Regions from separate parts of the Homo sapiens genome. Here region 1 is linked to region 2. The links are contacts of gene promoters, found by promoter capture Hi-C in human tissues and cell types (Jung and others, 2019). All regions are on one chromosome and are shown on one strand. Each heading gives the region's core, a stretch centred on a gene start or on the middle of the fragment in contact. The rest is flanking DNA. Distances are from core to core; before and after follow the strand shown. Region 1 overlaps CKMT2-AS1 (CKMT2 antisense RNA 1). Region 2 holds the start of CKMT2 (creatine kinase, mitochondrial 2).

What was found. The method cuts DNA at HindIII sites, captures the fragments that hold promoters and counts their contacts. A contact is called where the count stands out against the background at its distance.
Region 1: a contact is called between a fragment that was not itself captured here and the fragment with the promoter of CKMT2 in region 2, in 1 of the 25 tissues and cell types used here (mesenchymal stem cells).

What each region holds. Positions count from the first base shown.
Region 1 is chr5:81,267,774-81,275,268 of GRCh38, reverse strand. The region is part of intron 1 of CKMT2-AS1 (CKMT2 antisense RNA 1); the gene reads left to right. Among named protein-coding and RNA genes, the nearest start is that of CKMT2-AS1, 30 kb to the left of the region's middle. RefSeq lists enhancers at 4,437-4,987, 4,988-5,540, 5,617-6,816. The HindIII fragment of the contact is 6,048 bases long and covers 1,738-7,495 here.
Region 2 is chr5:81,229,433-81,237,164 of GRCh38, reverse strand. CKMT2 (creatine kinase, mitochondrial 2) reads right to left here and starts at 3,843. Exons shown (of 10, transcript NM_001099735.2): 1 at 3,788-3,843. It overlaps RASGRF2 (Ras protein specific guanine nucleotide releasing factor 2), which reads right to left. Exons shown (of 27, transcript NM_006909.3): 27 at 7,003-7,732. The HindIII fragment of the contact is 7,118 bases long and covers 1-5,694 here.

The sequences.
Region 1 (7,495 bases), core at 3,512-6,011, 37 kb before region 2:
CTGCTGATTGTTTCTTTTGCTGTGCAGAAGCTTTTTAGTTTAAGTTCCATCTATTTATCTTTGTTTTTATTGCATTTGTTTTTGGGTTCTTGGTCATAAAGTAGTTGCCTAAGCCAGTGTCTAGGAGGGTTTTTTCCAGTGTTATCTTCTAGAATTTTTATGGTTTCAGGTCTTAGATTTAAGTCTTTGATCTACCTTCAGTGGATTTTTGTATAAGGTAAGAGATGAGGATACCAGTACCATGCTGTTTTGGTGACTATGGTCTTATAGTATAGTTTGAAGTCAGGTAATGTGATGTCTCCAGATTTGTTCTTTTTGCTTAGTCTTGCTTTAGCTATTTGGGCTCCTTTTTGGTTCCATATGTATTTTAAGTTTGTTTTTTCTAGTTCTGTGAAGAATGATGGTGGTATTTTGATGGGAATTGCATTGAATTTGTAGACTGCTTTTGGCCGTATGGTCATTTTCACAATGTTGATTCTATACATCCATGAGCATGGGATGTGTTTCCATTTGTGTGTGTCATCTATGATTTTTTTCAGTAGTGTTTTGTAGTTTTCCTTGTAGAGGTCTTTTACCTCCTTGGTTAGGTATATTCCTCAGTGGTTTTTGTTTGAGGTGTGTGTGTGTGTGTGTGTGTGTGTGTGTGTGTGTGTAGCTATTGTGAAAGTGGTTGAGTTCTTGATTGATTGTCAGTTTGGTCACTGTTGCAGTATAGCAGTGCTACTGATTTGTGTACATTAATTTTGTATCCTGAAACTTCGCTGAATTCATTTTTTAGTTCCAGAGCTTTTTGGAGGATTCTTTAGGGTTTTCTAGGTGTATGATCTTATCATCAGCAAACAGCGACAGTGTGACTTCTTCTTTACCAATTTGGATGCCCTTTATTTTTTCTCTTGTCTGATTGCTCTGGCTAGGACTTTCAGTACTGTGTTGACTAGAAGTGGTGAAAGTGGACATTCTTGTCTTGTTCCAGGGGGAATGCTTTCAACATTTTCCACTTCAGTATAATACTGGTTGTGGGTTTGTAGTAGATGGCTTTTATTACCTTAAGGTATGTCCCTTCTATGCCAATTTTGCTGAGGGCTTTCATCATAGAAGGATGCTGGATTTTGTCAAATGCTTTTTCTGCATCTATTGAGATGATCATGTGATTTTTGTTTTTAATTCTGTTTATGTGGTGTATCACATTTATTGACTTGTGGATGTTAAACCATCCCTGCATCCTTGGTATGAAACCCACTTGATATGGTGGATTATCTTTTTGATATACTGTTGGATTTGGTTAGCTAGTATTTTGCTGAGGATTTTTGCATCTGTGTTCCTCAGGGAAATTGATCTGTAGTTTTCTTTTTTTGTTATGTCCTTTCCTGGATTTGGTATTAGGGTGATACTGGCTTCACAGAAAGATTTACGGAGGATTCTCTCTTTCTCTATCTTTTGGAATAGTGTCAATAGGATTGGTACCAATCCTTCTTTGAATATCTGATAGAATTCAGCTGTGAATCCATCTGGTCCTGGTTTTGTTGGTCTGTTCAGTTTGTGTTTCTTCCGGGTTTAATCTAGGAGGGTTGTATATTTCCAGGAACTTATCCATCTCCTCTAGGTTTTCTAGTTTACGCACATAAATGTGTTCTAGTAGCCTTGAATGATCTTTTGTATTTCTGTGGTATTGGTTGTAATATCTCCTGTTTCATTTCTAATGGAGCTTATTTGGATCTTCTCCCCTTTTCTTGGTTAGTCTTGCTAGTGGTCTATCAATTTTATTTATTTTTTCAAAGAAACAGCTTTTTGTTTCATTTATTTTATGTATTTTTGTTTGTTTCAGTATCATTTACTTCTGCTCTGACCTTTGTTATTTCTTTTTTTCTTTTTCTTTTTTTCTTTGAGATGGAGCCTTGCACTGTCCCCTGGGCTGGAGTGCAATGGCGTGATCTTGGCTCACTGCAACCTCCGCCTCCCAAGTTCAAGCGATTCTCCTGCCTCAGCCTCTCCAGTAGCTGGGATTACAGGTGCCTGCCACCATGCCCGGCTAGTTTTGTTTTTTGTTTGTTTGTTTGTTTTGTATTTTTAGCAGAGCTGGAGTTTAACCATGTTGGCCAGGCTGGTCTCGAACTCCTGACCTCATGATCCACCCACCTCAGCCTCCCACAGTGCTGGGACTACAGGTGTGAGCCACTGTGCCTGGTCGATCTCTGTTATTTCTTTTCTTCTGCTGGGTTTGGGTTTGTTCTTGTTTCTCTAGTTCCTTGAGGTGTGACCTGAGATTGTCCATTTGTGCTCTTTCAGACTTTTCGATGTAGACATTTAATGGTATGAACTTTCTCTTAGCACTGCCTTTGCTGTATCCCAGAGGTTTTGATGGATTGTGTCACTATTATTCAGTTCAAAGATTTTTTCAATTTTCATCTTGATTTCAGATTTCATTGTTGATCCAAGAATCATTCCAGGAGCAGATTATTTAATTTCCATGTATTTGCATCGTTTTGAGGGTTTCTTTTGGAGTTGATTTCCACTTTTATTCCACTATGGTCTGACAGAGTACTTGATATAATTTCGATTTTCTTAAATTTATTGAGACTTGTTTTGTGGCCTATCGTATGGTCTGTCTTGGAGAATATCCCATGTGCTGATGAATAGAATGTATATTCTATATTTGTTGGGTAGAATGTTCTGTAAATATCTTGTTAAGTCCGTTTGTTGTAGTTTATAGCTTAAGTACATTGTTTCTTTGTTGACTTTCTATCTTGATGACCTGTCTAGTGCTGTCTGTGGAGTATTGAAGTCTCCCACTATTATTATGTTGCTGTCTATCTCATTTCTTAGGTCTAGCAGTAATTGTTTTATAAATTTGGGAGCTCCAGTGTTAGGTGCAAATATGTTTAGAATTGTGATATTTTCCTATTGGACAGGTCCTTTTATCATTATATAATGTCCCTCTTTGTCTTTTTTAACTGCTGTTGCTTTAAAATTTGTTTTGTCTGATATAAGAATAGCTACTCCTGCTTGCTTTTGATGTTTGCGTGGAATATGTTTTTCCCACTCCTTTACCTTAAGTTTATGTGAGTTCTTATGTGTTAGGTGAATCTCTTGAAGACAGTGGATACTTGGTTGGTGAATTCATAACAATTCTGCCATTCTGTATCTTTTAAGTGGAGGATTTAGGCCGTTTACATTCAAAGTTAGTATTGAGATGTGAGGTACTATTCTATTCATCGTGGTATTTGTTGCCTGAATACCTGGGTTTTTTTGTTTTTTTTTTTCATTGCAATCTTGTTTTATAGGTCCTGTGAAATTTATGCTTTAAGGAGGTTCTATTTTGATGTATTTCAAGGATTTGCTTCAAGATTTAGAGCTCCTTTTAACAGTTCTTGTAGTGCTGGGTTGGTAGTGGCAAATTATCTCAGCATTTGTTTGTTTGAAAAAGACTGTCTTTCATTTAGGAAGCTTATACAAAATTCTTGGCTGATAATTGTTTTGTTTAAGGAGGCTAAAGATAGGACCCCAATCCCTTGCTGCTACTCTGATAGGTTTTCCCTTATAGGTTACCTGATGCTTTTGCCTCACAGCTCTTAAGATTTCTTCCTTCGTCTTGACTTAGGTAACCTGATGACTCTGTGCCTAGGCAATGATCTTTCTAAAATGAATTTCCCAGGTGTTCTTTGAGCTTCTTGTATTTGGGTGTCTAGATCTCTAGCAAGGCAGGGGAAGTTTTTCCTTGATTATTTCCTCAAATATGTTTTCTAAACTTTTAGATTTATCTTCTTCCTCAGGAATACCAAGTATTCTTAGGTTTGGTTGTTTAACATAATCCCAAACTTCTTGGAGGCTTTGTTCATTTTTTAAAATTCTCTTTTGTTTGTCTGTGTTGGATTGGGTTAATTCAAAAGCCTTGTCTTTGAGCTCTGAAGTTCTTTCTTCTATTTGTTTGATTCTATTGCTGAGACTTTCCATTGTATTTTGTATTTCTCTAAGTGCATCCTTCATTTCCAGGAGTTGTGATTGTTTTTTATTTATGGTACTTCTCTGGAGATTTTCTCATCCATATCCTGTAACATTTTAAAAATTTCTTTAAGTTGGTATTCACCTTTCTCTGGTGTCTCCTTGAGTAGCTTAATAATCGACCTTCTGAATTATTTTTCTGGCAATTCAGAGATTTCTTTTTGGTTTGGATTCATTGCTGGTGAGCTAGTGTGATCTTTTGGGAGTATTAAGAACCTTGTTTTATCATATTACCAGGATTGTTTTTCTGGTTCCTTCTCATTTGTGTAGACTATGTCAGAGGGAAGATTTGGGGCTGAAGGCTGCTATTCAGATTCTTTTGTCCCACAGGGTGCTCCCTTGATGTGGTGCTCTCCCTCTTCCCTTAGGGATGTGGCTTCCTGAGAGGCAAACTGCAGTGACTGTTATTTCTCTTCTGGATCTAGCCACCCAGCAGAGCTAATAGGCTCTAGCCTGGTACTGGGGAGTGTCTGCAAAGAGTCCTGTGATGTGATCTGTCTTCAGATCTCTCAGCCATGGATACCAGCACCTGCTCTGGTGGAGGTAGCAGGGGGTGAAATGGACTCTGTGAGGGTCCTTGGTTGTATTTTTGTTTAGTGTGCTAGTTTTGTGTTGATTGGCCTCTAGCCAGGAGGTGGCACTTTCAAGAGAGCATCAGCTGCAGTAGTATAGGGAGAACCAGGCAGTGGGCGGGGCCATAGAGCTCCCAAGAGATTATGTCCTTTGTGTTTGGCTACCAGGGCAGATAGAGAAAGACCATCAGGTGGGGGCAGGGTTAGGTGTGTCTGAGCTCAGACTTTCCTTGGGTGGGGGTTGCTGCAGCTGCTGTGGGGTACGGGGGTGTGGTTCTCAGGCCAATGAAGTTATGTTTCCAGGAGGATTATGGCTGCCTTTGCTTTGTCGTGCATGTTACCGGGGAAGTGGGGGAAAGCTGGCAGTTACAGGCGTTACCAGCTCCCATGCAACCCAAGAGGCCCGGTTGCCCCATCCCCAGCTGCGCTGTTTATTTCCAGGCAGCGGGTGAGTAGGGCTGAGAACTTGCCGCAGGCTCCATGCCTCCCGACTGAGGAAGCAAGCAAGGCTTTCAGATTTCATGCCTCCCTGCCTGCCACAGCTTCTGTGCTTGTATCTGCACTGCCTGTTTGTCCCCTCCCCAGGTTCTATCCAGGAGACTTTGTGTTTGGTCAAAATTGTTACAAAGTTCAGCTGGAAATTTCCTTCTCCTTGTGGTCTTTCCCCAATTTCACTGGCAGCCCTCCCCAAGGATACCTGAGAGACAGAGTCAGAAATGGCTTCCCTGGGGATGGAAAGTTACTCACAGGGCTCTTCCTGTTGCTTCCCCTACCCCTGTATTTGGCTCAGCTCTCTAAATTTGTCTCAGCTCCCAGGCAAGGTCAAATTCTTCTGTGATCTGGACCTTCAGGTTCCCCAATGAAGATGTGTGTTTGGGGGCAAATGATCCCCCTTTCACACTTTCACACCTTGGGCACTCACAGTTTTCTGGCTGTCTCCCAGAGCCTGCAGCCTGCCTGTTTGTGTACTGGGTTCTAATGTAAAATATATTTCTTCCCATAGGTTACAGTAAAAGGAAAAAAAAAAAAGTCACTGCCTTATTTAATCATCATAAAAACTTCATAAGGCAGGAATTCTCTCCATTTTACAAATGAAACCAAGACTATTGAGTTAAATAATTTACCTTTGGTCATGTAGCTGGTTAGTGGTTGAGCCTGAATTTCATGCAAATTTTTTGACCTCAAAATAACTTCTTTTTGGGCTGGGCACAGTGGCTCATGCCTGTTATCCCAGCACTTTGGGAGGCCAAGGCCGGAGGATTGCTTGTGTCCAAGAGTTCAAGACCAGCCTGGGCAACATAGTAAGACCCTGTCTCCACAAAAAAATTAAAAATTAGCTGGGCATGGTGGTGTGTGCCTGTCATCACAGCTACTCAGGAGGCTGAGGTGGGAGGATCGCTTGAGCTTGGGAGTTTGAGCCATGATCGTGCCACTTCATCAGCCTGGGTGACAGAGTGAGACTTTGTCTCAAGGAAAAAAAAAAATTATTTTGGCTTCTTTCAGAACGTTCAGACATGCTCTTTTATGATATTTGGCCTGAGGGGAGAGTAGCTCAGTCTCCATAAGCCAACTTACTGTGGAAGCTCAGAAGTCAAGGAGAACACCCCTGTTTCTCTTCCCCTGTGGAAGAGAGCCAGAATGATTTTTCAGCCATCAAAGCTTTCTCATTGCATCTGCCTCTGATGTAAGGAATGCAGCAAATTTTAAAAGGCCTATGACTCAGAACCATGCTCTGTTCATATGACTGTTTGATGAATACTGATTGAACTAGACTTTAGTAAACAGGAACTATTTGCATGCTATATGACTCCCTTGGCTGGAAGATATGGTATTCAATTAGCATTTTAATTAATAATTAAAAGTCCCTTTATCTCTTCCAATGGACTCATCTTATAAAAGGTGTTATTTTGACTGTAATATTGCCAATGTGCTTGTTTCTTGTGGCAAAATTAAAACTTATCACAACTTCTGCAAACAGGATGAGATCACTCAAATGCTTGTCAGTGCTTGAGGAGAAAGCATATTCTTGTATCCTATTTAAGTGCTATTACATAATCTGAAAATTGGTTGAAGACCTATCAGGAAAAGATAGTTGATGAATATGGAGGATTTCGAAGAAAAGTGAGGTGCCAGATCGAGTGTTGAGGAATCCATTGTAGACTTGGTTTAAATGACTGTCTTTGGTTATGAATATTGTTTCTAAAGAGTAAAGTCACATGAGTACATTCCTGGTAATATACCAGAGGTCAAACAGCCCAACAAATGAAGAGTTTGAAATGTAGATAATTTAAAGATGAAGTACTAGCAGTCTGTAAGCAAGCCAGTATTGAAAGCGAACGTCACTGAGGTTATTGATGAATTAAAACTAATGGATAGGGGTGAGAAATAAATTAGATAAAAATGCAGCACCAAAAAGGAGAGAGATGTTATCTGGAATTCACTGTCCCTTACATATTTAGTTAATTCTTGTTGATGTTGCTGTTGCTTTAGATGTTGTGGTATAGATTACAAGACTTAGTATGTCAGTAGCCCTATACTTTATGATAATACTTGTTTTTTTCAGCTTTTCTTAAATGAAATGTTGGTATATACATCTGTCTAGTCTGTTCAGCCCACTTATGCTTATGAGCATAATGCTTATTTAGCAATGTGAATTTGCTTCCATTTACCACTTAGCTCATAAGGTCTTTCAGAAGAGGGACCATGAGTCCTGTTGGCTTGCCCTAAAAGATAGTGTTGTTAAGGCATATTCACAGATGGATCATTATATGATTATAATACTGATTTATTTATTTAGCAAATGCCTACATAATACTGTGCATTGAACACTGGTAAGTAAACTTTCATATACTAATTAATTTCATCCTCCCAACAACCCAATGCAATAGGTATAATCATTGTTTTCATTTTATCTAGAGGAAACT
Region 2 (7,732 bases), core at 2,594-5,093:
ATGTTTCATTTAATTTGAGAAAGAGTCTCGCTCTGTCACCCAGGCTGGAGTGCAGTGGTGCGATCTCAGCTCACTGCAGTCTCCACCTCCTGGGTTCAAGCAATTCTCCTGCCTCAGCCTCCCAAGTAGCTGGGATTACAGGCGCCCACCACCACATGTGGCTAATTTTGTACTTTTAGTAGAGATGGGATTTTGCCATGTTGGCCGGGCTGGTCTCGAACTCCTGACCTCAAGTGATCCACCTGCCTCAGCCTCCCAAAGTGCTGGGATTAGAGGTGTGAACCACCACAGCTGCCTTCTTTTAATTTGTATTTTCTATCTCTGCGGACAAGACTTCAAAGGTGTCTATCACATACTTTCAGATCTACTGATCATCCTCTGAAAACCAACATCGGGGTTCACAAAATGGATTTAACCAATTGGGCTCCCCAGTTCTTCTTCCAGACTCCACCCCTCCAACAGTGTCTCCAATGACTTCCTGGCATCACTGAACAGGTCCTTCACTTTGCCACCTCTGAGCCTTTGCTTGAGTGTTTTCTTTCCCCTGGAATATCCTTTCCAACCCTATACACCGACTGAGTCAAACCTTCTGTCTTCTTTTTGAGCATTTATGAGCTCCTATCATGAGCCATGCATTATGTAAGGGACCTTACAAACACAATCAGTCTATGTAACAATCCTGCCAAGTATGCTTTATTTTGGGCATGGGGAAACAGAGGCTCAAGAGAAGTGACCTGCCCCAGGTTTCAGTGCCAGCACACTAGTAGAGCTGGGATTTGAACCCAGGTTTGTCTTTTGCACTGGATTCAGCTTCCTTGCAGACCGCAGCACCTCACATACAGCCCTTCACTGACCAGCAATTGGAGGGAAACCACCCCTGTGGCTTAAAACCTGTGGTGCCACAGATCATTCCACTCAGTCAAACCCCCAAGACCGTAGAAGTGCATTTAACACAGCAGCTCCTAGGCACAGGATTGTCACCTCAGGGCATATGACTTCTAAAGTTGCAGATTATAAACTTGTTCTCTTTCCCTGTCCTCAGGCTCCCGCTGAAGTAACCCAGACGCCAGGGATATCTCTGCCCGCTCCACTCTGACTCTAGTGCTCAATGTGCCTGCCAGGCCTTGCTAGGGATGCTGTGCCAGTGTGAAGAGGAAGGTGGTCTCCAGCTCTCACCCCATAGAAGCTTTCTGCCTCAGTTTCCCTAACCTGGAACACCACAATGACTCCTGAATTGAAAAACACTGCTTACAGCATCTAGGCTAAAATTGGCAGAATACCTGGGCTCCAAGCCAGGGAGATTTGGAGCGATGGGGAGGTGCAAGAGCACAGCCAGACAGAGCCAAAAGCAATAATATCCTGTTTGTTCCTACACTGCCCTCCGCATTAAAAAAACAACGACAGCTACATCAAGCCCTTTTGTTAAGTGGCCACAAGCTGTACATTTCTTGGTCCCAGGCAGGTATACTGGGAGTTCAGATCCTGGTCTTAATGCTCTTCTCTGGTTCTGTGACATCCTAGAATGTGAAGAGGAGGCCTTGGGTTCTGTCACTGCCTCCAGCCCGAGCCCCCTGCTCTTCCTGGGCATCCCGGATGGACCATGTCTGCCTTTCTGCTGACTCAGATTTATTTCTGGTCCAGCCATTCACAGCGTCCATGTGTCTGAACTCCTCAGCCAGAGGGCAGGTGGAAGGGCAGGAGGAGGACCACGTGTCAGCTTTCCATCCAGAGAGCCACCCCAAAACAGAGGATGTCCTTGGGCTTGGACCAGCTCCACAGAACACTCTGAACAAATTCTCACGATGCCAGGCTCCTAGGCCGCAGAAAATGCCTGTCTCCTCCCAGTTCTAAGATAGCAAAGGGTGTGCGTTACCTCAAAACCACTTAGTACGCAGCCAACCTTAATGGGCACTCTTGGCATTACTGTTCTACTCAGCAAATAGACAGTCCTAGGCAGGAAGGAGATATTTAGAATCCTACTCTGTAAAACAGAGGCCTTTCCTAGGCCTCCTGTGATGAAGGCATGGGACCGTTACCAGACTTTGTCCCTCAAGGGTAAATTGTTTTCAAGAAAACAGGAAGCTAGGAGCCATCTAGTCCTTTGAAGTGCTGTGAAGTGGGCTGCCTTCTTCCCCGCCCAAGGGAGGGAGTCTCTGAGGCTTCCTGGCAAGGGTTAGTGTGACCTCCAGCAGTCACCTTCAGCATGGGTTGCTGCTGGATTCCTGGCTCTGTGGGCAGGAGCTCCCAGAATGCTTGACACAGACTCTACGTGGCTTCCTTTGGGAAGACAAATGGAGCCTGCTGTAGGCTATGGCAGAGATGGAGGCCCAGGGCCTCTGAGCTAGGGGCAAAGTCAGTCTCCCTCCTGTGTCTGAAACCCCAGGACTCCCCATTCTGTATGGTACTCCCCCCGACCCAACCCACAGTTTCCTTAGGAAAACTGACCTGCCTATGGCCCATTTCCTAATGATATGATTTGGTCATGAGGCTGGCAGAGTCCATGGGGTGCATGTGGCACTCCTGTGCTTTGCTGTGACAGTGCCTTAACCCACAGGCGTGATTAACTCCAAAGTCTGGGGTCTTTGGAAAAGGTGCCTATCAATGCAGAGGAAGTGAAGTGCTCAGACCGCCAAACAAGGCCAAGAGCCTCCCGGAAGAGCCTGCCTGTCAGGAAGTCTCTGGCCACATGCTGTGGCCATGCTCGCCTCTATGAGAGGACAGAGAGAACAGACCAAGGACACGAGTTCAGAACAGAGAAAATGTGAGAGCCGTAGACAGGAAAAGCAGCCCTTCTGGAAACAGCACACTGGTGTACCTAGCGTAACCTTGTCCTGAGGGCCACTAACTGCCCCTCACTTGACTCAGCTGACACTGTGAGGGGTCACGAGCCTGGCAACACTTTCTGGAAGGTCTAAAGGGCAGCACTGAGGAGACCTAAAGGTTTTGGTCTGTTTGTCAAATGTCACTCTTCCTCACATTCGGAGGAGAGCATTTGAAGGCAGACCACTCTAGGGGCAAGAACAGGACTGATTTTAACCCCGGGACAACCAACCAAGCAAGCAAGCTAGTGAAGAACAGGCCTCTGCCCAGGTGAAACACGTGGGGCCAATTCCATAGGTTTTTTTTTTTTTTTTTTTTTTTTTAATTAACCTCCGGTGGGAAAGGTAAGGATGGTGGGGAGGGGAGACGGTTACTTGTCTCATTATCAATGTGTTAGTATTAGTGACGGCAAAACTGAATCTCTAGCAATACTATTTGCCCGTTTAAACTGGGCCTGGCTATTGGGCTTATGAGCAAATAGCTTCTCAAAATTTTAATTTTCTAGTTAGTTCATCCCAAGTCACTGATTTACATGTCTTTTGAGACTGAGACTGCTGGGGAAAAACATTCCCAGAAATGAGTGGATTAGACTCTGTGAATTACAAGGGAAAGACACTTTAAGTTTAAAGTTGTCCCAAACTTAGCGTCAAAATACAGCCTTTAGATTTTTTTTTCCATCGAGAAAAATTCCTGATTCACTACCAAAAAGAGGCCCTGCAGGCAGCGTGCTGATTTGTTCTGCTCCTGGTGCTGAGCTGCCCCCACCTGTGTGCAGGGAGGAGGGGTCGCTTCGGCCAAGGGCGGGAGCTCTGCTGGCTTTAGCGAGTCACCATTGCCTCCTCGCAGTCAGCGTCCTAACGGGGTCCCCGTCTACAGCCCGGCATCCACTCCTCCAAGGCCCTTCACACTGGCTCTAGCCATGACCCCTCTTTGGAGGAATAAAGCAGAGTTTCACGGACTCACCGACCTTGAAGCCGGAGCCTCCCACGTCCTGCTGAGCGCACACAGCCAAGAAGTGTATGCAGGGCGAGCTGGTCGGGCCGGCCTGGAAATCCTCCCTGGCGGGGCGGGGCCAGAGGACCTCACCAATCCCAGCGTAGACCTCCGGGCGCACCGGCCCCCACAGCTGTACCCTTGAAGGCAGGCCCGTGGGCGCTGGGCCCTTTATAGCACCTGCCCTTTCTCTGAAACGTAAAAGGCGGAGCCAGTCTTGCTTCCCAGGCCTGGTCCTGGAGGCTCCTTTGCCAGGGCTCTGGATCTCAGAATGGAAGGGCCAGCAGGTGAAATTGCACATCTGTTGGGGGATTTGTTTCTCTCTTCTCTCAGGTGTACCAGCCTTGGGGCCCTGGTGAGCTCTGGAGGATGAACCCCTCAAGCCAAGGTCGGAGAGGAGGATGTCTCAAGCTGCCTGGCTCCAGCAGCTGACCGGGCCCTGAGCCAGGGGCTGGAGGGACCTCCTTCCAGCGTCTTTGTCTGGGACCTGGATCCAGGGACAATTACAGTCAGGTTTCTGTTCAAGATCAGGCCCCCTGCAGTAGATGGCTAGATCATCTCGCTTTCTGTCCACACCAGCTTAACCCACGGCAGGCCATAGCCCTGCTTAAAAATAGCCCCGCTTGGGATATCCACCGCACGCCGGGAAGGCTGCCTGTAAATAGCAATGACCCAGCAGGATTTTGGACAGCAGCCCTGCCATTTCAAGGGAGCCTGCCTAGGCATCTGGTGACCGTCACGTACTCAGCTTCTGAGGCCACGTGGACATGACCAATTGGTTCCTGTCTCTTCCTTCTCAGAGCCCAGCTCATGCTCAGAGGACTTGATGGAGCAAGGGGTGGAGCCCCAGGAATAACCTTCTACCCAGTGTGGTTCTCCTTCATTCTCTGAAGGAGTTTCCATTTCTTTTAAACACGACCCATGTTTAAAAATATCATCTATTTTACCTTTGCATGGGGTACTGACAGGGAGAGCACGTGAGGGGGCCTTTTGGCGGGATGGGAAGTTTCCTGATTGGGGTGGTTATATAAAGATTGGGACCAATCAAATTAATTTCATAATCCTTTAAGGAGTCAAGACCCACCAGCTTGCATATTCTATCATCAGGGCAGTCTCGGTTTATTCCTTCTCAAAATAGCTCTTTTCCACACACACTTGTTTCAAGTCAGTTCAGGCACCAACTGAAATAAATCCATTGACCCTGAAATAGCCCAGCTCCCAGATCCAGAAAATTATAAGGCTTTTAAAGAGCATGGAATTGTAGATTTAAAGAATGGCAGTTATAGCAAAAACCTCCTTTTCCTCCCCAATTGCCTAATCAACATTTAGGGCCCCCTCCACTCACCCGACCTCAACACCTTATATTTTATAGAGTAAATGTTTATGTTAGTAAGGTCAGAAGAAAAATTGGGTCATTGTTGAGAAAAGAGGGTACCACCCTTCTTTTGGGGGACTGGTCCTCTTCAAGCTTATTATAAAGGTGGTGTGATGGGGATGAAATCTCTACAAGGGACTCACAGTAGAAATTCTGGCTTTCTGGAAATCTTTCAAATGCCATCCCTGTCACATGGCATCTATTCCCTTCTCATCGTTACCAACTCCTTTTGAAGCTCTGGGGCTCTAGCCACACCAGGCTGCCCTGTGGCTGGCTTCTGCCATAAGGGCAGGAACAGAATTGAAGTGTGCGACTGCCATATCATTTGCTTTAAAGGAAAATGTCCTGGACTTATTCTCTTTTCTGTTCCTGAGTCCAGCAGGAGTGTGGCTAGAGCAGGCCCCAGATTTGACCTCGAAGGCAAGGATGACGCCTTGTGGGATGAGCAAGTAATAGGATGAAAGGAACCTGGGTTCCTCTGTCGCACCAGCCTGGATTGCTCATTTCAGAATTGGGCAGGAGGGACCCCTTTCCTTAGTCTATTCTTGTGTCCAGCAACTGTAACTTAATTCCATCAGCTCTAAATGTTGCCACAACTTCATAGAAGTTAAAGTATTTTCATATATAGTAATCCATATAACCACTGCAGTTATTTTAGGGGTAGACAGGAGTCTTATTTCAGAAGCCCCTCCTAGGTGGAGCCTGGTGACTATTAGGCCAGGACTCTACCCTGGCGGCTTCTCCTCTCTCCACCACCCATTCAGGAGCGTTGAGCTGCTGTGCAATGGACTGAGCTGTTCCAGGTAGTAGTGAGTTCTCTGTGCCTGGAGGTATCAAATATAGGCTGGGGATGTCACAGGAAGAATCTAAGCACTGCAAAGAAAGTGTGATTAGTTGATCCTTCGTATCATTTCAAAGCTTTCCCCAAATTCTTTGAATTTTAGGGCCTCTTCTAAACTGTTTTTCTCCCTGAACTTTAGAAGTAATATTTAGAAGTAAATAATATATCTGAAGGAGTTCACTGCTATGAAGAAGATGTAAAATAAAAATAAAGCCCCTAGGCCCCCAAGCAAAACAAAACAGACTCATTGTGGTAAAAAGAGACCCCAGGAAACATTAAAAACCAGATTCTACAGCTTTGGCAAGGCAAGAGGTCAGTCACACCCAACGCTCTCCCACCTCGATAACTGCCTCAAGACTTTCTTTCCTAAAATTAAACTAAAACCAGTTACTGAAAAACTATGTCTGGAAGATTTCTTCCTCAACTTCAACAGACAACCTGACGTGGCGAACCCCCCCTTCCCTCAACGCAGTTTCCCCCTGACAAGTGTTCAGCCTTACAAAGCACTCCATCCTCATAACTGACCACAGACCACAGCCGGTTCTGGCCGGTTTACAGAGATTGCACACCAAGCGTCTTTGTGCCCTGTGTTCCATCTTTTGACATATAGAGCCCAATTTTACTACATTTTAAGTCTCCATCCCAAAGTGAACATGGGTTGTATGTAACATGTAACATATATGATTACTGGCTATGCATGCATTAGGGCCTCTCATAAATATTCATAAGATTATCCTATAACCTACTAAATGTATATGTAAGGCTCATCTTGTTGGGCATAAATCTCAGCCTCTCCCTTTTTTATCTGAAGTGCTTGCTTTTGGCTTTGGCCAGAGGCTCCAGCCTGCAGATTGTAACCCTTTATAAGAAATTAAGTTCTATTTTTTCTAAATGTATACATTTCATGGTTTTAAGTTGACAATGTAGAAAAATGGGGGGAAAAAGAGTTAAATGAAGAAACCAGTGAGATTTCTGAATATTCAAGAAAGGTGAAGTTTAATTTGCATATAGGCATAACCTACACCTCACTTGGCAAGTGTTAGGCCACAGCACAAACCCCTCTGTCCAATCACAAATGTCCACAAATTTGCAAAGTAACTGGACACGAACGATATGCTTCTCAAACTCACACACATATTCGTCCATCACACACACACTCAAATGATAAAGAAATACATTGAAATCCTCTACAAAAGAGATCTGAGGACAGTAATCAGATGACCTCATGTGCGGACAGCACTTTGCAGTTTACAGTCTAATCCATTTGGTCCTCACAATAGCCCTGTGAGATAAGCAGCACAGGGATTACTATTCACACCGTTTTGCAGATGAGGAAACTGAGGCTCAGGGATGTGTAAACACCAGCCTAAGGTTTTCCAGTTGGAGACTGGGCCTAGGACTCAGGGCCGGGATGCCTAGGCCAGCTCTCTTTCATAACTGGCTTTCTAGTGAAAAATGAAATGAGCTGTGTAAAAACCAACATCATTAAGTATAATAGAACTATTATTTTCCTTGAGCAGATCAGACTAGTGCTATCAATCCTAATGTTAATGTCATGCTGCATGGCAGCTGAGATGAATAATTTTCTGAATCGTTCATGTGTTTATACCTACAACAAAATGACTGTTTTCCATTTTGGCTCTGCCTCATCTTAATTTTAAGTCACCAATGGCCGCTGAGAAATGACACACTGATTAGATTTC